Linked DNA regions of Homo sapiens: regions 1, 2, 4, 5 and 6 are each linked to region 3. Evidence: promoter capture Hi-C in human tissues and cell types (Jung and others, 2019). All regions are on one chromosome and are shown on one strand. The core of a region is centred on a gene start or on the middle of the fragment in contact, and the rest is flanking DNA. Distances in the headings are between cores, read along the strand shown.

Region 1 (3,037 bases), core at 5-2,504, 330 kb before region 3:
AGGCTCTTCTGAGAGAAAGACCTAAGACCTAAGGGCTCATCAGACTTTCTTTTTTTCTTTCTTTCTTTTTTTTTTTTTGAGACAGAGTTTCGCTCTTGTTGCCCAGGCTGGAGTGCGGTGACGCGATCTCAGCTCACTGCAACCTCCGCCTCCCAGGTTCAAGGGATTCTCCTGCCTCAGCCTCCCAAGTAGCTGGGATTACAGGCATGCGCCACCACGCCCTGCTAATGTTTGTATTTTTAGTAGAGACGGGGTTTCACCACGTTAGTCAGGCTGGTCTCAAACTCTTGACCTCAGGTGATCCGCCCACCTCGGCCTCCCAAAATGTTGGGATTACAGGCGTGAGCCACCACGCCTGGCCTCATCAGACTTTCTTAAAGGAGCCCATGACTCGGAAAGCTTTAAGATCCACTATTCAGTAGACAAGCAAAATGTGGCCATCCACCCAAAGGAAAATAATCCAGCCATACAAAGGACTGGCACACGCTACAACACAGACAAACCCTGAAACCTGACGCTGAGTGAAGGAAACCAGGCACAGAAGGACACATAGCACGTGATCCCATTTCTATGAAACATCCAGAGTAGAACGATCCATAGAGACAGGAGGTAGTAAACTGAGGGCTCCCAGCACCGGGGCACAGGGTTTCCTCCTGGGCAATGGACATATTCTGCAACTAGAGAGTGGCAATGGCTGCATAACCTTGTAAGTACATTAAGAACCACTAAGTTGTATGCTTTAAAAGGGTGAATAATATCCCCATTTCTAAAATATATATTTTAAAGTCCACTATTTGAAATGGCAAAAAGAAAAAAACCCACAACCCAGAAACAAGAAAGTAGCACCAAGAGCAAGACACTGCAGACAAGGGACCCCAGGGGAGGTGGGACCCTGGGACGAAGCAGGGCTTCCGGGAGGTGTCCCTGATGCCCCGCCTGGCCCCACGGCCTCCTAGGTGGCACCTCATGTTTTATTACACACTCAGGGACAGGAACCAAGCTCACCTCATCCAACTTTGAGTTCGTGAAGCAAAATCTCCACTGAGCAATGGACAGCAGCAAGGAAACGCAGATGTGCATGGAAACCACGGGAGATTAGTAAGACGAACACACACGCAAGGCCCCCAAGCTGGGGGCGGAGTCAGTCCCTTCCACGCTCGCTTGCCACCACTCTGTGTCTCACGCCACAAGATGAGTCAGACAAACCCATGATAAAGTGCACACGGTGTGCTCTTCAAAACTCCAAAGCACAGGCCAGGCGTGGTGGCTCACGCCTGTAATCCTTGCACTTTGGGAGGCCGAGGCAGGTGGATTTCCTGAGCTCAGGAGTTCAAGACCAGCTTGGCAACATAGTGAAACCTCATCTCTCCTAAAAAATATAAAATTAGCTGGGTGTGGTGGTGCACACCTGTAATCCCAGCTACTCGGGAGGCTGAGGCATGAGAATCGCTTGAAACTGGGAGATGGAGGTTACAGTGAGCTGAGAGTGCGCCATGGCACTCTAGCCTGGGCAACAGAGCAAGACTCTGGCTCAAAAAACAAAACAAAACAAAACTCCAAAGCACGCCAAAAATACATGTAACGTGAAAAAGTTGCCACTCTGTTTGATGCGCAATGACAGTCCATGGGGCCAGTCACTTCGCAGTGTCCTAGTGGCCTCCAGCCTCATGCTCCTGTTGGGCAAGTCAGCATCGGGTGCCCCAATGCCGCTGCCCGCTGGCACGGAGGCAGACAGCCCTGCTGAAGAGACAGTCAGGGCCATCAGAGAACCCGGGAGAACACGGGAGAACGGTGAGCTCAACAGGAAGAAGGCACATCATGTGGGGTCACACCAAAGATGCACGAACAGGAGACACCAAGGCTGTAGGAGCCTGCTGTGCCAGGTCAGGAAGAGAGGGAAGCACAGGGGCCCACACGGAGAAGGGAAAAGGACCTGTGTTGGGTGTGACCCCCCACCGAGAGGTGTGAGGGAGCATTTACCCTTCACCCTAGATGGACAGAAGGGCCAAAGAGGAATGAGGCCTCCTCGCACCAGCAAGTTTAGGATTAGGAGGTTGTTTAACAGGGAAAGGTGACACAATTAGAAAAGAAATGTTTGCTTTGACTGCCTTCTGAAATTGACATGGGAGAGAGCCTGGGTTGGCAAGTAGAATGTGCATTTGAACCTCAGAAGAGGAGATAAGTCTACGCCAGGAGCCTGAGGGTCCAAAGACGCTTCCCACCCTGCCCGCAGATGGTTCAAGCAAAGCACACTAGACCGAAGCTCCTGGAATCCCATCCCTCTCTCTATACCTCATCTACTAAACAGCTGCCCAGTCCCCTCCGCTGCTGGCCAGCTTCCCCCATAGAGAGCTTTTCAAGACCAGCCACAGTGGATGGCAGATCTGCTCTCATGGACTGACTTTCTTTCTTTTTTTTTTTTTGAGACGGAGTCTTGCTCTGTGGCCAAGCTGGAGTGCAGTGGTGCAATTCTCCTGCCTCAGCCTCCCGAGTAGCTGGGAGTACAGGTGTGCACCACCATGCCCAGCTAATTTTTGTATTTTTAGTAGAGATGCGGTTTCACCATGTTGGCCAGGATGGTCTTGATCTCTTGACCTCGTGATCCGCCCGCCTCTGCCTCCCAAAGTGCTGATTACAGGCATGAGCCACCGCGCGCAGCCTGGACTGTCTTTCAAAAAGGCACTAATGAACGATGCAAAGGACAGACGACACAGGAAGAGGCCGACAATGAAAAGTCGGTGCTGCGTGCCACTCTGGAAGGCACAAGGCCACTCACCACAACCTGACATTAACCACAACAGCCTTGGATGACGGGATCTGACCAGTGCTGAGATTTCAAATAAACAAGTGAGCTGAACATGAGAAGACCAGCACAGGCATCAAATATAGGACAAAACGGAACTGATGTGCTATAAATAGGTGAAGTCAGCAGAAAATCTTACATGAATGGTCACGTGGATACCAAAAGCAAACAAACAAAACCGCATCGGCGGCAGACCCGAATCAAGGGGTACCCCTAATGTGCAGAGACCAACAG
Region 2 (3,237 bases), core at 316-2,815, 390 kb before region 3:
ACAACCTCCTGGTCTCAAGTGATCCTCCTGCCTCACTCAGCCTCCCGAGTAGCTGGGACTACAGGCATGCACCACCACATCCGGCTAATTTAGAGAAGTTTTTTTTTGTATAGACAGGGTCGTAGTATGTTGTCTAGGCTGGTCTCAAACTCCTGAGCTCAAGTGATCCTCCCACCCTGGCCTCCCAAAGACCCAAAGACTACAGACCTGAGCCACCATGCCCACCTGTTTTCTTGACAGGACTTGCATATGACAAGCTCTCTGCTTCTCCTCACCTATGCATTGCAAGCCAGGTCAGAGGCAGGTTAAACACCTTAAGGACATGTTAGGACAAGTGGCATACAAGGGAAAAAAACCCGTTCATTTAAGTTACAGAAACAGAAAAAAAAAAACTGGCTTATTCCCACACTTACTCTACTCAAAGCTTTGAGAAGACTAATTTTGGCATCCTCTGGCTAAATACAAAACAACAAAACAAAACAAGGCAAACTCTTTCAGCAAGAGCTGTGGGGGAAGGGACTATAAGGGACACACACAACTGACAGGCAAAAGCTCTGAGCACGTGATTGCTAAGTTTAATTCAACTGTTACACCCCATTCTGCCTTGTAAAAATAACAAAACGCTCCTATCAAAATGACATTGTGATGTGAGTACAGGCTTTTTGTTTTGGTACAGCTCTAAAAAATGTTGGCACCGAATGCACTTAAGAAAAGTGTTAAGGCTTAATACAAATACAGAGACGAGTCATTTCTCAATGCAGCTTAGAGGGTGAGAACAGGATGCTAGGTTTTTAAATCTTCCAAATACAGGCAGTCCCCAACGTACAGACATACAGGACACCTCCCAAATGTAAACGACAGCCACACAGCAGGGCTTGCATGCGCAGGAACTCTTCTTCTCCCAGTGAGCAGACTAAGCACTCTGAATCCCACCCCACTGCCTCGCAGAGGGAAAGAAGGCAGGACAGATGCAAGAAGAGTAATGTCAGGGGCTCCATCACAGCTGCCCAGGGGCTTCTGCTGTAGTTCATATTTTCCTCATTCCCATCTCTGGTTTCTCCCATAACCCAGAAGTCCCTGCCAGGGGCGGAAGTAAAGAGCTTTTCCTCTCACCTAGCGGACTGCAAGGGCTGGGAGAATCACAGGGCCCAGTACCGTCACGTCCTATTTCTTCCTGGCAATCTGATTTGGAATTCGTGAATCATTTTCTCAATAAAAAAACAGAAGTTATAAATGGTAGTTCATTTCCACCATTAAACTGTTTCCTTTCAAGTTGCATCAATGACTTTGAAGCACAAACCACCTGAAGTGTGTGTAGAGTCACACAGAGTGTTTCTTGGCTCCAAAGTCTACAGGCAATCAAAAGGGGGAAGCTGTCTTTGGTTGACAAAGCCTTGTGCAGACCCCAGTGTGCCAGGTGTAGGAAGGGGAGCTTGGCAGGCGGCTCCTGCAGGCACTTAAGCAGTGAGGCAGCATGAGCCTGACTGAACATGGCTGCTGCTTTTCTGAAGTTTAATAATGATGATGTTTCTAGCACCAAGCATTAGCTTTGTAGGCACTCAGAGCAAAGCTGCTGCCGCCACCCAGACGTTCTCCTCTGTTAACAGATGCCCACCCAAGGGCAGCATGAGAACTGGGCCTGCAGCCCTTGAGGGGGATGGGCAGAGGCTTCTGCCTGAAGATGAAAGCACCACCACCTTTGCCATCCCATTAGCTGAGTGAGCAAAGCTCAGGGAATTGGACAGGTGTGACTTTGCTACTGAACTCCTTCATCTCCTGGCCTAAGGTCTCTAGTCTCTTCTGGAAGCTTGTTTGTGAGTTAGATCCAGAAGTTCTATAAAGCTTTGTAGAGGGTGGCCTCCACAGCTCTTCTTCCTCTTTGGTGTACCTGAACAATTGACTTTTTTCTGGAAAGGTGTCAGAAACAGACCAGAGTCAACAATCATTTATGTAAAGCTGGTATTTAAAATTTAGCTTTTTAGATATTATTAAAGAATCCAAACCTAAGAACCCAAGGTTCCCAAGCATCTCTTCTTTCCACCAACCAATTAAGGAATAAAGAAAGACACAGGAAGAATTTAAACAAGCCACTTACTCGGAAATATCTGAATAGATTTTTAAAGTCCCGCAGAGGTCAGCGGGCCTCATTTATGGGAAGAACTGTGACTTGTGAAGGGAACTGTCTACATCACTGGAGAACAACAAACGCCTAAACTTAAGGCTGATGAGAGGAAAAAAGCAAGAATTCACAAGCAAAACTGGCATGTAAAGGACCAAGACCAGCCCTGTGTGAAAGACAGGCAGATTCCAACATGAGATCAGATCAGGCCGAGGTTTCAGATGGCAGGAACTGGGCACTTCAGAGGGTCAGGGCACCAAAACAATCTTCCATGAAGTAGAAGACGGATAACTATTATTATTTGGTTTTTTGAAAGCTGCCGAGGAAAAGCAATCAAGATGTTTCAAGAAAAGACTACAGAACAATATGCTGGGGGTAAAATGAAGTGGGGATGCTGGATTTAGCAGCCGTGATCTCCAGAATGGAAGCGGTTCTGCTAAGAGGTCAATATACTGTTAGTGTTTCTGCTTACGCCTCCTCCATCCCACAGCAGCAGTGGACAGGCTGTTTTGGTTTCTTTCAGTCATTCCTAGACATCCAATCAGCTGGCGGGCTGTTGATCCAAGGACCATGCCCTGCCCCACCTCCCCACCCTCACCCCCCTTCCAGTTCCTCTCAAACCTGGACTACACATGAGTGATGGCCAGGGGTGCCCCATTTCATCCCCACAGAGGCATCTCCCAGCCATCTGGAAGGCACGGGTCTCCAAGCAGCTGTCATGACGGCCAGGAGACGCTGAGCAGCCAGGCTCACATAAGACTAACCCTCTTCCCACCCCGCTCATTTGGGCAAAAGGAAATGAAAACATGGCTACCCTATCTCTTGAGTTTCTGGTCTGGCTCCGGGTGGAGCAGTGGCTTCTCTTAGTAGAAGGAGATGCTGGATTTGCCTCCCGGTGGGTTCAGGACCTTGTTGTGAGAGCGAGGCCGCGGCCCCAGCCGGGGCTCATGGCTGTCGACTGTGGGCATGGGCTCCTGCTCCTTGGCGGGGCCTGCTTTTCTGGCGCTGCCTTTCTCACCTGGCTCTGCTCCAGCCGGGATGCTCCTTGCAGCTGTGGGACACAAAGTTAGAACAACATCCCATTAGAGGCAACCCATGACCCTGACAGGCAGGCTGTG
Region 3 (3,231 bases), core at 564-3,063:
TGGTCTCACAGGCACTGCACCGCCAGGGCAAGGAGCCACAGGTGCACACCCACCGTGTCCCAGACAGAAGCCAGGCCCCTCCCCCTGCACCCCCTCCTACTGGCCTTCTGGAGAAAGCGGCCAATCTGTTACAATGTAATCACAACACAGATCAAGCGTTCAAAATTCCGCTGAAAATCGAATTTGCCCTTCCAAATTCACAGATAGGCACTTAGTGAACGGCTAGTAGTTACTAAACGCTTCAGAGCAAGAAACTTTTATGATGCAAAGACAAAAACAACCCTCATCTATTAGAGCCAGGCAAGGCCCAGACACTGCAGAAACGGGGACAGGGCCGGGCACTCCAGGAGCGGCCCGAAAGTCTGCCTTCTGTCCTCCTGCTGGGCGCCCGCAACCGGCTGAGCTTTAGCTTCTCGGATCACCGCCTTGCTCTGCTGGTTGACAGCACCGACTTCAGAGCAACTTCCTGGCTGAGGGTGAGCAAAGCACTCACCTCCCACAACTCCACCGCACTGATCTCCACAACGGGTGGTCGCCACGACAGGCTGGCACAAGAAGCCTTTAAAGGCCCTCCTGCACCCAAATGCAAACTCTCCCAGGCTTGGGGAGGTATTCCCTTCTGCAAGACCCAAGCACCTGCAGTCGGGAGACGCTTACCTGGCCGCACCTGATCTGCCCCAGGCCCCGAGAATGTTTCTGAAGCAAGATCCCAAACCCTGAGACACCATACAAGCGCACACCAGCAATCACCCAGTGGCCTAGGGAACGGACCTCTCTGAATGAGCAATCAGGGCAAACTGAGGATCCGTCCCGTCTTCCGTTGCATAGGTTCTCTACCCAAAGGCAACGTTTCTTGAAGAGCAAGAAACACTTGGGGTAGGTCCTGTAAAAGGAAACAAACCGAACTCCCCAAAGACAGGCACTTTGCAAACAGAGAAACTAAGCGTAACTTCCAATTATACAAACAAAACCACTTCATTCTGCGATTCAAGCGTGACTACAGGCCACGATCACAAGCCCAACTAATCATTCCCTTACATTCCTCCTACGCACGTTAACTACCAGAACCAACTACTATTCAACCGATAAAAAGAGATGTCCAAAACAGAATAAAACTCCCCCTCCAGCGAGGCGCTCACGTTCAGGGCCCCAGCAAGCGCCAGCGGAGCATCTTCAGAGGCACAAGAAAACTTACACTTGTTTTGGTTTTAAGGCACCGAAAACAAGCCCGCTCGCCGGCCCCCACCCCCGCGAGCCAGCGATGTTGCAATCCAAGACTCTCCCCCCGCGGCCCATCCTATCCGTCCGCGGGGCGACCGTGACCCCGGAAGCCGCTCCCCGCGCAGGAGGAAGGCGCGGCCTCGCGGGGCCCCGGCTGCAGGTGGCTGCCCCGGCCCCGCGCCAGGCGCACCTCGGGGGCGAAGTGGGGGAGCCCCGGCCCCGAAGGCCTGCGGCGGCCCGGCCGCTCGGGCCGCAGCCCAGCGGCGCCAGCAGCGCGGACCGAGCCGGCGCCGAGCGCGGGGCCTCTCGGGCTCCCCGGAAAGCTCGGCCGCGGCGCGGGGCCCGGCTCGGCGGGGCGGGGCGCGGGGCAGTCGGGGGCCCGGGCCCAACAGGAGTAGAGGCCTCGGCCCGACCCCCGCCCCGCGGCCCCGGCCCGGCCCCCGCACGCGCTCACCTCGGGCGGCCGCAGCCCCGGCGAGCGTAGCGGACAGGTGGAGGACCGAGCGGGGCGGCGGCGGCGGCGCTTCCCTTTGTCTCGGGACTTCCCTCCGGAGCCCGCTCCGCGCGCAGCCAGAGCAGCTCCGAGGACCCTGGCGCGGGCGGGGCGCGCGGGGCGGGGCCTAACGCGGGGCTGCCCTCTGCACGCCTGCCTCGCGCGCCGCTCCTGCCGCCCGGCCCCGAGCGCCTCCCGCGCCGCCGAGCGCTCCCCGTTGCCCGCGCCCCGCCGCCGCGCGCCCGCGCCCCGGGTCCGCCCCAGGAGCCCGGCCGGGGGGCGACTTTCCAGTCAGGCGGCGCCCTGGACACCTACGCCCTTAAAGGAGCCGCGTCCCCGATGTGAGGGAGCGTCTGTAAACTCCCCTTCGGGCTGCCCGCGTCCACCCGAGGACACGCCGGCAAGCAGCGGGGGAAAAAGGAAGCCGAGATCTCCAAAGGCTCCCCGGATGCCTGGCGGTCACCTCTCCAGCCACAGGTCCCGGAGGTTTCCTTGGGGTCAGGTCCTGGGGCCGGGGGTCAAAGACCACTGAGGCCTAAGGATCCTCTGAAGCGTCGCAGGACGGTGACGCTCCCGCGAGTTCAGCGCCCTGTGAAACCCCTTGCAATTGGCCAGTTCGGGGCGGTAGGCGGGGACACCTTCTCATCCGCCCAATGAGCTGACCCCGTACAAAAGGCCGAATGCGAGCATGACCGACGGGAGGAGAAGTGTGGATGCTCCCTAAACCGGGGGCTGGCCCTGGGCCGGGGCGCGGGCGGGACGTGGGGGACCGCGAGCGGCGGGGGCGGGGCGAGCCCGTGGGGGAGGGGCGCTTCCGGTCCCCCCTCCCGCCCACGCAACAAGCAGGACCGGGTCGGGAGGCCCCCAGACCCGCGAGCGCGCGGGACAGTCCGTTCGCCAACGCGCGACCGTGCTGGCCCCCGGGCTCTCCCGGCCCCCCCGCCCGCATTTCGCCGACGGCGGGGCCGCAGCCAAGGTCACGGTGTCCGGGTGCTTGGGGACCGCGGGGAGTGACCACATTCATTCATTCCCTCCCTCACTCATTCATTCATTCCCTCCCCTACTCCGTCATTCCCTCCCTCACTCACTAATTCCCTCCCTCCCTCACTAATTCCCTCCCTCCCTCATTCATTCGATCCCTCCATCACTCAATCATTCCTTCCCTCTCTCACGCATTCCCTCCCTCACTTACTCATTCATTGCCACCCTCACTCACTCATTCCCTCCCTCACTTACTCATTCATTCCCACTCACTCATTCCCTCCCTCACTCACTCATTCCCTCCCTCACTCATTCCCTCCCTCACTCACTCATTCCCTCCCTCACTCATTCCCTCCCTCACTCATTCATTCCCTCCCTCACTCACTCATTCTCACTCTCACTCATTCCCGCCCTCATTCATTCATTCCCGCCCTCATTCATTCATTCCCACCCTCATTCATTCCTTCCCTCCCTCACTCATTCCCTCTCTCATTCATTCCCTCCCTCCCTCACTCACTCATTCCCTCCCTCACTGA
Region 4 (3,383 bases), core at 109-2,608, 360 kb before region 3:
TGCCAAGAACTCATCCTAGTCTCCTTGGACGCCGTTGCCTGCTGCTCGTGGGGAAGCAGCTCTGTGACCACGTTCCTGCCCGTTGCACAGTCTTGGGTGCGGAGATGCCTCTGTTCAGACCATCTTCTGGGGCTGCTGGGCTTATCTATTTTTCTCTAGCTCGAAGAGGGCTTCATCCGCCACCAGGACGTGTGGTCACTGGGACAGGTCACTGACAGCGGGGCCGCCTCCACCACCATCAAACAGAGCTTCTCGGCGGCCAGGCTCAGCGATGGACAGCTCTTGGGCCAGGTCATTGAACCGAGAAATGTAATCAATGCTGTTTTCGTTCATCATGCACACCAGCTGGGAATCCACAACCTGCAGGAAGAGGAGACAGGAAGAACAAGTCACCGCGACCTGCTGGCCCTTCAGTGGAGGGCGGGTCCTGAAACAGGACGAGAAGCTCCTATCGACTCCCGCTGCAGGAAGCTAAGCTAGGGATGGCAGCCCAGGGCTCTGTGCAGAATCACAATCACCTGTCGTCTGCCCGCACACTCTTTAGATAAGTGCTCGCAGAGAGCCTATGATGTGCCTGGCACATCTGATGGCTGGGGTGAGGGTGCTGGTCCCCCCGCCCGCCATGAGACCTATGGGGGAAGACACCCAACAGGTAGACAGACTGTATGCAGCAGACACAGGCACTGGGGGCAGCCTGCAGAAACAGATGCAGAGTGAGGGGACAGAGAGTGCCGGGAAAAGGAGGCCAGAGAGGGTGCTCCAAGGACTGGGACCTGAGCGGGAGGTGGGGTAAAACCCGAGGATACGTGGGGGACACGTTTCCATCATAGACATGAGGACAGGTGGGGGACACATTCCCATCATAGACATGAGGACAGGTGGGGGACACGTTCCCGTCACAGACATGAGGACAGGTGGGGGACACGTTCCTGTCATAGACATGAGGACAGGTGGGGGACACGTTCCCGTCAAGAGACATGAGGACAGGTGGGGGGCACGTTCCCATCACAGACATGAGGACAGGTGGGGGACACGTTCCCATCATAGACATGAGGACAGGTGGGGGACACGTTCCCGTCATAGACATGAGGACAGCTGGGGGCACGTTCCCATCAGAGACATGAGGAGAGCTGGGGGCACGTTCCCGTCAGAGAAATGAGGACAGGTGGAGGGCACGATCCCGTCAGAATCCCAAGGACATGTGGTGAGGGCACGTTCCCATCAGTCCTGAGGACATGTGGGGAGCACGTTCCCGTCAGAGACATGAGGACACATGGGGAGTACGTTCCTTTTTAAAGAAGCAACAGGCATGTTCCCTGAGACAGGAAGAGGCTTTGACTGAAAAGCACGACCAAGGTGGTGGCCATGACAGAGTGAGTGAGGCAGCACAGAGCTGAGGAGACGGAGGACGGGAGGGCCTCGGCACCGGGATCTTGTCCCATGAGCAAATACGTAGAATGTGCCGTTTTCAGCGCTTATTGTCTGCGTCCTGCTCTAGAGTAGAAGCCTCATGAGGACAGGGGCCATTGTTTGCACACAGCAGACCCTGCAGAAATATCCCTTAATGAACTGCATGACACTGTGAATGCAAGAAGTCTGGAAAATTCTGAATAGAGCTATGGCGTAAATGAAATTTTATGCTTTGATTATGGGAAATGTCAGACAAATTAAAATTTGTTTTCAAAAGCAGAGCAAAGAGTAATTCTCCTTCCCCTGTATGTCCATCAGCAGCTCCCACCCGTTTCATCCCAGGGCCACCCAGCTCCACCCCCGCCCCCTTCATGCTAGCCCTACCACCAGACCCTTTCATCCACAAATGCCTCAGCCCATCCTTCCAGATGACGAGGACCTGCTGAGAAACATACTCACGTTCTGAGTGGAGGGCTCTCGGGAAAATCTCATGCTAAACGCTGATCTGCTCTTTCTGAAGGTGAACACGTTTGCATTACTCGCGACGGGCAGCGTTTCACAAATACTAACTGCACCCTTTCTCTGCTACTCACTCCCAAGTGCCATCTGTTGCCCAGGATTTTATTAAAGGTGCAAATTCTGATTGGGGTGAGGCTAACACTCTGGATTTCTGACTCCAAGGGGCTCCTGTCACTGGGCTGTGGCCCGTCCTTTCAACAGCATGGCGTGAGCATGCTGCCTCAGGGCACGTACGCAGCGCCCATCTCCACAGAGCCCAGCACTTAGGAACATGCGCACAAACAGGGGAAGAGACAGAGACTGGCTTCTCGGGAAACATCAGAGTCCAAGGTGTGCCCTGAATAATGATTCTGGGGCCAAACAGGTTTGAGAAACGCCACACACTGTGAGATGGAGGTCTACGCTATTAATTGTGTCTATGTGTATATTTGGCTAAAATTTCCAGTCATATCATGGCTTGGCTTGGAATTCTCCAAAGCCTGCCCATGAGTTCATCATCTCAAGAGTCACGATTCACATTCGGATACTGGGTAGCGGAGGTGTCCGTGAGAAACAGCTGTTTTGAGCTTTTTTGGATCCAGGGTGTCCCTCAAGTATCTACCCACAAAATCCTCAAGGAACACCTGCCAATGTCTCAACATTGTGGGGACTAGATTCGGGGAATGCTGCTCCAGGACTTTCACATGGGCTAAGCCCATGCGGATGATCTCCTGGACCTGGAGTTCCCTCCCTGTCCATAGAGCCCTCACCCGACTGCCCACACACCTGCCACTCTGCACTTTACGTCACAGTGAAACGGGCCTGTCTTCACCCTGCAAGCCTGACCTGCCCACGAATGCCACACAAACCATGTGGTGGACGCCTTGAGGGCTACAACCAGATGGCCTGGCCAACAAAGAGGGACGCTGCATCTCGTCAAAAGTGGAGAGTCACAAACCACGTTTCGCCTTCCCCTCAAGAACCTGCCCCAGTGACTCCTCCTATCACTACCCTGGGCGTGGGAGAAGCATGAGGACAGCAGAGCCCATCCCAGTTCCCCTGCACCGCAGCTCAACATGACAGGGAGATGCCACTCAAAGGTCCTGCTGTTAGGATGGGAGCACTGACAACACAACTGCTGCCACCACCCCTTACTCCTCCCTCCACAACACTCCCCGCACCTCAGCACCTCACAGCCAGGGAAGGAGAGGTAACATCCCCACTCGGCTCTGGCTGCCTTCAGAGACCCTGCTCTGCGCCCCAGACCAGGGTTTCCAGTTCAGAGGCCTGCAGAGCTCAGCTATGACTAAGTCTGTCATTCTGCATGTGGGGACGAGAGCCGGCCCAGCGTCCCCAGATCTCTCCATTCTCAGTAGTCAGGGACCTGAGTGTGGACGTGCTGTCTCCTGTTCTTCTACTCTTGGCAAACAGCTCTTACTAACCCACAGGTGTGCAGGAGAGTGCTGGCAACCTCT
Region 5 (3,412 bases), core at 123-2,622, 510 kb after region 3:
GGGCGGGCACTGGGATCAGGGAGACGTCTAGCCCCCACCATGCCAAGAGGGGCAACCATCTGCCCTGAGGAGGAGGCCTCGTGCCCTGGGCTTTAAGCTGCCCCACCCCACCCCCAAATCCATAATAAAAATAATCCCTTCCCTAATGTGCCCCAGTTCCAGAGGCGCCTCTGATCCAGCCGACACACATCAGGGCGGGAGGTGCAGGTGGCCCCGATTCACGGAGTCACACTGGCAGGGAGTCCTGCTGAGTGACTTCAGGGACCTGAGCGCCTGAGAGGGACAGGGCCCACCTCTCCCCGACAACCCCTGCAGAGGTCTGGGCCACCCCAGGCAGGCCGGGCGGTTCCCTGTGACACTGGGGAAGGCAGAGTGACCTGCTCACAGGCCCCTGGCCCTGCCAGCACCCACCGAGGGCCTGGCCCACGCTTCCCCGGGGGTGGCCCAGCTTCTGCAGGGACTGTTTGGGGAGCTTGGCCCTGTGCCCCCAGAGGCTGCTGTTGCTGCCTGGGCGCCCCCACCTAGGATGCAGCCTGGTATGTACGTCACCTGCTGGTACATAGGGCACAGCTCCCACAGGAGCCCAAGGGGTACACCCAAGGGCAGGGTGGGAGGAGACACGGGGAAACGTGTCAGAGGAAAAGGGGCCAGTCTCAGCTCTGCAGGCTGACAGGTGCGGAGCCCCAAAGGGAAGCCCTCTCCCCAGAGCCTTGAGGTCACACAACCCGAGCCCAAGTGCTGCAGCTGGGGGCACCTCTCCCGAGGCAGCGTGCCCCAGAGCACCCACAGTGGACCGGTGTTGGGGACGCCTCAGGCCGCCACTCTCAGCTCAGATCAGACTGAAAAGCACGGCACTCTCCTGCCCTCGGGAGCTGCCCCGTGCCGGCCACTGGTCTGGGAACAGGGGATCGGGCTGGAGCAGGGAGCTCCACAGAGCCCCGGGGCCCCTAGCAGTAAGAGGCTCACATCCCAGGGTGAGCCACATGGCCCACACAGGATGCCTCTGTCAGGGGGGCACAGCTGAGTGTCACCTGAACCCTGCAGGCTGCAGAGGCTTCAGAGGGCAAAGGGTCCCAGCCCCATCCCCACTCCTCCCGGCTGGCCCAGGACACTGGAGGGGGAACCCACCCCCTCAAGTGGAAGGAGACCTCTCCACCAGGGCCCAAGCTGGCCCCTCAGGGAAAATGGACCAGCCCCACACTGGCCCCTGGCTGCATGTCCATCCGCTGGGTGAGCCCAGGGGAGGGGGCAGCACAGGCTATCTCTGGGGTCAGCCCAGCCCTGAGGAGGGTGTGGGGGCGGCGCCAGGGCCCAGGTGGCGGGAGGGGCGGGGCACAGCCAGGGCTCTGCCTGGCGGACTCCCGGAACATCACTTGGCCCTCGCTCTCACTCGCGGTCGCCTGGCCGTTGTCATTGTCCCTCCGCTGTCACCTTTTCAAGGTAGGTCCGATGAACAGGCGCCCGGGGCTAGGGAGGGCCCGGAGGCCCCTCGACTCTCAGCTGGCCCAGGTCAGTCCCCTGGGCTCACCCTAACTCCCGGGGCGAGGGCAGCTGCCCCGCAGGCAGCAAAACCCAACCCGAGCCGGTGCTGCAGGCAGGGAGGCGGCTCTCGCGGTGCGGGGGAGCTGTGTCCATCTGAGCGCCGTGCGCCGCCTGCAGTGCCCACCGAGTCCCGTGGCTGGGGGCGTCCACGGGGTGCACGGGGTGGGTGGCCAGGCTTGGCGGCAGCTGCGCGAAGGTAGGGCTGGGCAGCAAGGACTGGGCTGTGGGCGGGGCGCCAACACCCCGGGCCTGGGAGGACCCGCACGCAGCTAGTCCTGCGCCCACGGGGCTGAGTGTAGGGTCTCCGAGAAAAGGCCTGCACCGGGGATGGGGGCGGGTAGGGGTGCTGGAACTCCAGAGTCTCCGGGAGGGAATCCTCTGCATGACCCTGATCACTCCCCCAGAAACCTGCCCCCGCTCGCTCCCCGGCCTCCCACCCCACTACGGGCAGACCCTCTGCTGGCTGCTGGGAGTCTGCCCAATTCACCACCGGGACCCCACCAGCCTCAGGCCCTGGGCCCCTCCCTAGGTGGCCGGTGCAGCTGCACGACCAAAGGATGGGGAGACTGTTGGGCCAGGAGCCCCCTTCACAGCCAGAGGCAGGCTCCCCGAAACTTGACGCCAACCCCCACCCACCCTCCCAAGGTTCAGCCCTGTCTCCCAACCTTGGGGACGGGGGCCAGAGTTGGGACGGAGTGAGGGACTCCCTGGGCCCCTGGAGTGGGTAGGGGGAGAGGCAGGGGGCAACCCACCCCCACTTGCCTCGAACTTGTGGCAGTTCTGAGGGGTGTCAACCTGTGGCTTTCCCAGGCTGGCCACAAGCAGAAAGCACGCAGGTAACGTGTGTGGTTCCCAGACACACTGGGGACCCAGGGGCCACCCACAGCCCATATCCCAGACTCGGGTAGTATAGCCTGAGCCCCCAAGATCCTGAGCACACACCCCACCTGCCAGAGAAGCAAACTGCAGCAGAACATTCCTGTCCAGGAGTCCTGGCTCTGGACTGGGCTCTGCCATGCAAAGCAAAGGGGCACACAGCGGGGCGGGGCAGGGGCCACCTCCTGAGGACCTCGCCCCACACCTCACACCGTGGTCTGGGTCAGCCTGCGTGGGCCTCAGTGGGAGGGTAGGAGCTGGGGGCCTGCCGTGCTGAGCACCCTTTCTCCTGCCTGCAAGGGATCTTCGTAAGGTGTGGGGGCCTATGGGGGAGTAGCTGAGGATGTAAAGTTTCTTGCAGTTAATTAGTCCCAGTGCAGGAGGCGGGAGCTGGGGCCTTGTGGGAACTCGCTCTGTGCCCTGCACCCTAGCAACGCCTAGGGGACTGGCCCAGGCAGTGGTGTGGACTCTCCCCGCTTCATCCTGCGGGGTTCAGCTCAGGCCTGCGGGGAGCAGCGGGGGTGGGGACTACAGGCTGGTGGCCTCGGCCCTGTGGCTTCCTCCTGTGCCCTCCAGCCCCAGGCTGGCTGCTTCAGAAGCCCCTGACCCCATGGAGGAGTGGGACGTGCCACAGATGAAGAAAGAGGTGGAGAGCCTCAAGTACCAGCTGGCCTTCCAGCGGGAGATGGCGTCCAAGACCATCCCCGAGTGAGTGCCCCACCTGCCTGATTTGCCTCTCATTTGTCTGCCCTGCGCTGGCTGCTCATTTCCATAGCCACGACCACCGCCGCCGACAGGCAGGTGCAGCAGGAGGCCCTCGGGGGTCAGGTGCCACCACTCACCTGCCACCCGCCCACCCGCAGGCTGCTGAAGTGGATCGAGGACGGGATCCCCAAGGACCCCTTCCTGAACCCCGACCTGATGAAGAACAACCCATGGGTGGAAAAGGGCAAATGCACCATCCTGTGAGCCCCGCACCCGGCCCCTCTCACAC
Region 6 (2,945 bases), core at 305-2,804, 330 kb after region 3:
GCTGTCCCTCCATTCCCAGACACCCAGAAGCCCTGGCAGGGCCCAGGCGCCCGTCCTCACTGAGCCACAGGACACACTCCTTGGGACTCTTCCCGAGGCTCACCTCCAACCGCCTGTGCGGCAGGACTTGGGGGAGCAGGGGCCTGCCGTCCACAGCGCCCCGTGGCTGCGCCCTAGATCCAGACAGAAGGCAGGAGGTGCAAATACGCAAGCTCCAAGCTCCCTTCTTCCAGGTGAGGAGCAGGATACGGGAACCAGAGCCCCAAACCAAGAGAACCATTTGAAACCCAACCAGAGGACACTCGGTGGGGGCGGCCTGTCCTGAGCAACAAGTTCTTCACTCTGCAGTCCTAATTTCTGGAAAACTGACCGGCCCCACCACGCCAAGGCGTGCACACGGCGCACCCCGTCATCTCCACTCCTGCCCTCCCTGCTTCGGACCGAGGGTGTCCAGGAGAGGGAGAAACTGCGGGGAGGGTACTCGCAGGCAAACCTGCTGCCCACCCATCCGCCTGCCGCACTCCCTCCCCATGGGTGGTCCAGGAGCTAGAGGAGCTGAGCCCTTTCTAAGGAGGGAGCACCTCCAGAGAGCCGCATGCAACTTGCTGTCGTGCCGGGCGTGCCTCCCGGGGCTGGGGCCACTCGCAACGGCTGGAGGGCACGTCGGGGTGCCAGCCATGGCCCTCCGCAGGGTGTTCCCCGCCAGGAGAACTGGCTCCAGAGCGCACCCGCCACGAGGGTGCACACCCCAGGCGCTGCCCTCCGCGGATCCCGACTCCCATAGCTGGCGCCGGACCCCGGCTGGCCAGAGGATGTTTTTCCACTGGGACCCGCCCTGACACCCGCCCGGGGTGCAGAGCCCGGAGCCTGCGTGTGGCCACCACCTCCGCGAGCTCTGCGCCCTCCAGGCCCCCGCTCGCAGTCCGAGACCAGGGGCGGCCAAGGTCCCGAACCCCGCCCCCGGGGCGCCGGCACTCACCGCCACAGCTTGCCCAGCGTCTTGCTGAGCTCGGCGTTGTGCAGGTGCGGGTACTGGTCGGCCAGCTTGCGGCGCGCCGCCTGCGCCCACACCATGAATGCGTTCATGGGCCGCTTCACATGCGGCTTGGCTTTGAGCGCGCCGCCGCCGCCGCCGCGCACCGGCATGGGCACCAGACTCCAGTCGTAGCCCTTGAGCACCTGCGACACGGCGTCGCGGATGCAGGCCGGGAAGCGCTCGTCCGCCGCCTCCGCCGGGTCGCCCCGGGCGCCCCCCACCGCGACCCCCGCGCGGCCCAGGCCCTCGGAGCCGGCGGGAGACGGCGGCGCGTCCGAGTCCGAGTCCTCCACGTGCGACATGGAGCTGGCGGTGCCGGACGGGCTGCAGGGCGGCTGGGAGCGGGCCTCGCTCATGTCCAGCATCGGGGCCGCGCGCGGAGGGGCGCGCACAGGAGACGCGCACCGGGGCCGGCGCCCGGGGCTGCCCTGCGGTCGCTCCGGGACCCGAGGTCGCCGCGCGGTGGCCCCGACCCTCGCCCCTGCCGCCGCCGCCGCCGCCGCCGAGGCTCGGGTCCCGCTGCGGGACCCGCAACAAGTTTCTTTAAGCGGCGGCCCCGCGGCCCCGCCCCGCGCCCGGCTACCCATTGGCGGAGCGCGCCCCGATCCCCCGGAGGCGGAGCCCGGCCGCCCCCGCCCCCCCACCCATAAAGAAAGCTCCGCGGCTCTCGCCGCGCCCCCGCCTGCCCCGCCCGGCGCCGCACCACGTGGGCCAGGCGCCCCACGCCTGGAGCTCCCCTCTCTGGAGCCCCGGGAAAGGAAGCGGGGCAGGGAGGCCGGGTGGGAGCAGGGGGGTCTCCGGCGCTTCCTCTCCTCTGCGGGCGCCGCGCGGCTCCTGAGAGTCCGCCCCCCGTCCTGACGCTCAGCTAGGAAGCGGGTCCTCGGGCCCCTCCCCCGACACACACACACACACACACACACACACACACACACACACACACTCTCTCTCTCTCTCTCTCTCTCTCTCTCTCTCTCTCTCTCTCTCACACACACACACACACACACAGCCCGTCTCGCGCCTGAGGTCTCGCCCGCAGGCCGGTGGCGCGGGGTCAGCTGCTGCCTGCGGTCCAGGACAGGGTCGGTTCCGCCGCGCAGCGCCCAGGCCCAGCTCGTCCAGAGTCTGCGGACAGCGCACGTCCAGGTAACGCGCTTCAAGGGGCCGCGGCTCGGAGCTGGGGGACCCCGGGCCGCCCTGCCCATACGAGTGCGAGCGTGGAGAGCGCGGGCGGGGGCGCGGTCCCGGGGGCCGGCCAGCTGGAGGGGGCGGGAGCGCTGGGCGGGGCCTGCGCTGACCCCGGCGCTGAGTCCCTGGGGCCGCCGGGCGGATGGCGTGGCCGGACGCGGGGGCCCCGGGCCTTCCGGGCGTGACCTAGGGCTCGGGGGCGGGGAGGCCCCTCCGGCGGGGCGGCCCTGGGTGGTCCGGCAGAGGCGGAGGCCGCTCCGAGCCTGTGAGCCCTGGGCGCCTGCGGAGGCGGGGAGAGGGCGGGGTGTGCCGCCCTGGTGGGGACCGCGGGGTCGGAGAGGGGACATTGCCCCCCCCGAGGCGAACGTCCAACCGCGGGTCCGGGTCCCCGCCCAAGGCCGCCCCGCGAGGTGGCCTCGGCCCGGCCGTCCCCGAGGGTGGCTCGGATCCTTTCAACCAGCGCGCTGGAGGCGAAGGGGCTGCGCCATTCCGGGTCAGGCAGCCAACGCGGGACACGCGCGTCTCCGAGCTTGCGGCCCGCGAAACCCGGGTGACCTACCGCGCCGGTGCCCTCAAAGCCCCCACGCCCGGGCCGGTGGCCGCTGCAGCCACTGAGCCACGCGGTCTCCCCGGCCCGGTCGGCAGAAGGAGCTGGTCCGTTACTAGAAAAGTCCAGATGCAAAGTCGGGGGTCGTGCTGCCGCTTCCTGCCAGCGCACCGCACC

Evidence for each region. Contacts are between HindIII fragments. The study calls those that stand out against the background at their distance.
Region 1: a contact is called between a fragment that was not itself captured here and the fragment with the promoter of UBE2I in region 3, in 5 of the 25 tissues and cell types used here (dorsolateral prefrontal cortex, lymphoblastoid cells, mesendoderm cells and 2 more).
Region 2: a contact is called between a fragment that was not itself captured here and the fragment with the promoter of UBE2I in region 3, in 4 of the 25 tissues and cell types used here (IMR-90 fibroblasts, dorsolateral prefrontal cortex, lymphoblastoid cells and 1 more).
Region 4: a fragment that was not itself captured here is called in contact with the fragment with the promoter of UBE2I in region 3 in 1 of the 25 tissues and cell types used here (dorsolateral prefrontal cortex).
Region 5: the fragment with the promoter of GNG13 here is called in contact with the fragment with the promoter of UBE2I in region 3 in 1 of the 25 tissues and cell types used here (dorsolateral prefrontal cortex).
Region 6: a contact is called between the fragment with the promoter of SOX8 here and the fragment with the promoter of UBE2I in region 3, in 2 of the 25 tissues and cell types used here (lymphoblastoid cells and pancreas).

The regions. Positions count from the first base shown.
Region 1 is chr16:1,633,413-1,636,449 of GRCh38, reverse strand. The region is part of intron 4 of CRAMP1 (cramped chromatin regulator 1); the gene reads right to left. Among named protein-coding and RNA genes, the nearest start is that of CRAMP1, 23 kb to the right of the region's middle. The HindIII fragment of the contact is 4,859 bases long and covers 1-3,037 here.
Region 2 is chr16:1,698,744-1,701,980 of GRCh38, reverse strand. It overlaps JPT2 (Jupiter microtubule associated homolog 2), which reads right to left. Exons shown (of 5, transcript NM_144570.3): 5 at 1-3,170. The coding sequence ends at 2,983. Among named protein-coding and RNA genes, the nearest start is that of MAPK8IP3, 5.8 kb to the left of the region's middle. The HindIII fragment of the contact is 5,896 bases long and covers 1-3,237 here.
Region 3 is chr16:1,308,218-1,311,448 of GRCh38, reverse strand. UBE2I (ubiquitin conjugating enzyme E2 I) reads right to left here and starts at 1,813. Exons shown (of 7, transcript NM_003345.5): 1 at 1,676-1,813. RefSeq lists enhancers at 692-1,303, 2,005-2,244 and silencers at 1,275-1,464, 1,665-1,964, 2,455-2,744. The HindIII fragment of the contact is 23,762 bases long and covers 1-3,231 here.
Region 4 is chr16:1,670,858-1,674,240 of GRCh38, reverse strand. CRAMP1 (cramped chromatin regulator 1) reads right to left here. Exons shown (of 21, transcript NM_020825.4): 21 at 1-360. The coding sequence ends at 196. Among named protein-coding and RNA genes, the nearest start is that of JPT2, 5.7 kb to the left of the region's middle. The HindIII fragment of the contact is 5,726 bases long and covers 1-3,383 here.
Region 5 is chr16:798,694-802,105 of GRCh38, reverse strand. It overlaps GNG13 (G protein subunit gamma 13), which reads left to right and starts at 1,372. Exons shown (of 3, transcript NM_016541.3): 1 at 1,372-1,440; 2 at 2,995-3,126; 3 at 3,282-3,412. The coding sequence starts at 3,029. The coding sequence ends at 3,387. RefSeq lists enhancers at 34-583, 584-1,133, 1,134-1,683. The HindIII fragment of the contact is 13,916 bases long and covers 1-3,412 here.
Region 6 is chr16:980,379-983,323 of GRCh38, reverse strand. It overlaps SOX8 (SRY-box transcription factor 8), which reads right to left and starts at 1,554. Exons shown (of 3, transcript NM_014587.5): 1 at 980-1,554. The coding sequence starts at 1,401. CEROX1 (cytoplasmic endogenous regulator of oxidative phosphorylation 1) reads left to right here and starts at 1,711. Exons shown (of 3, transcript NR_164343.1): 1 at 1,711-2,945. It also overlaps a transcript of LMF1 not described here. The HindIII fragment of the contact is 8,118 bases long and covers 1-2,945 here.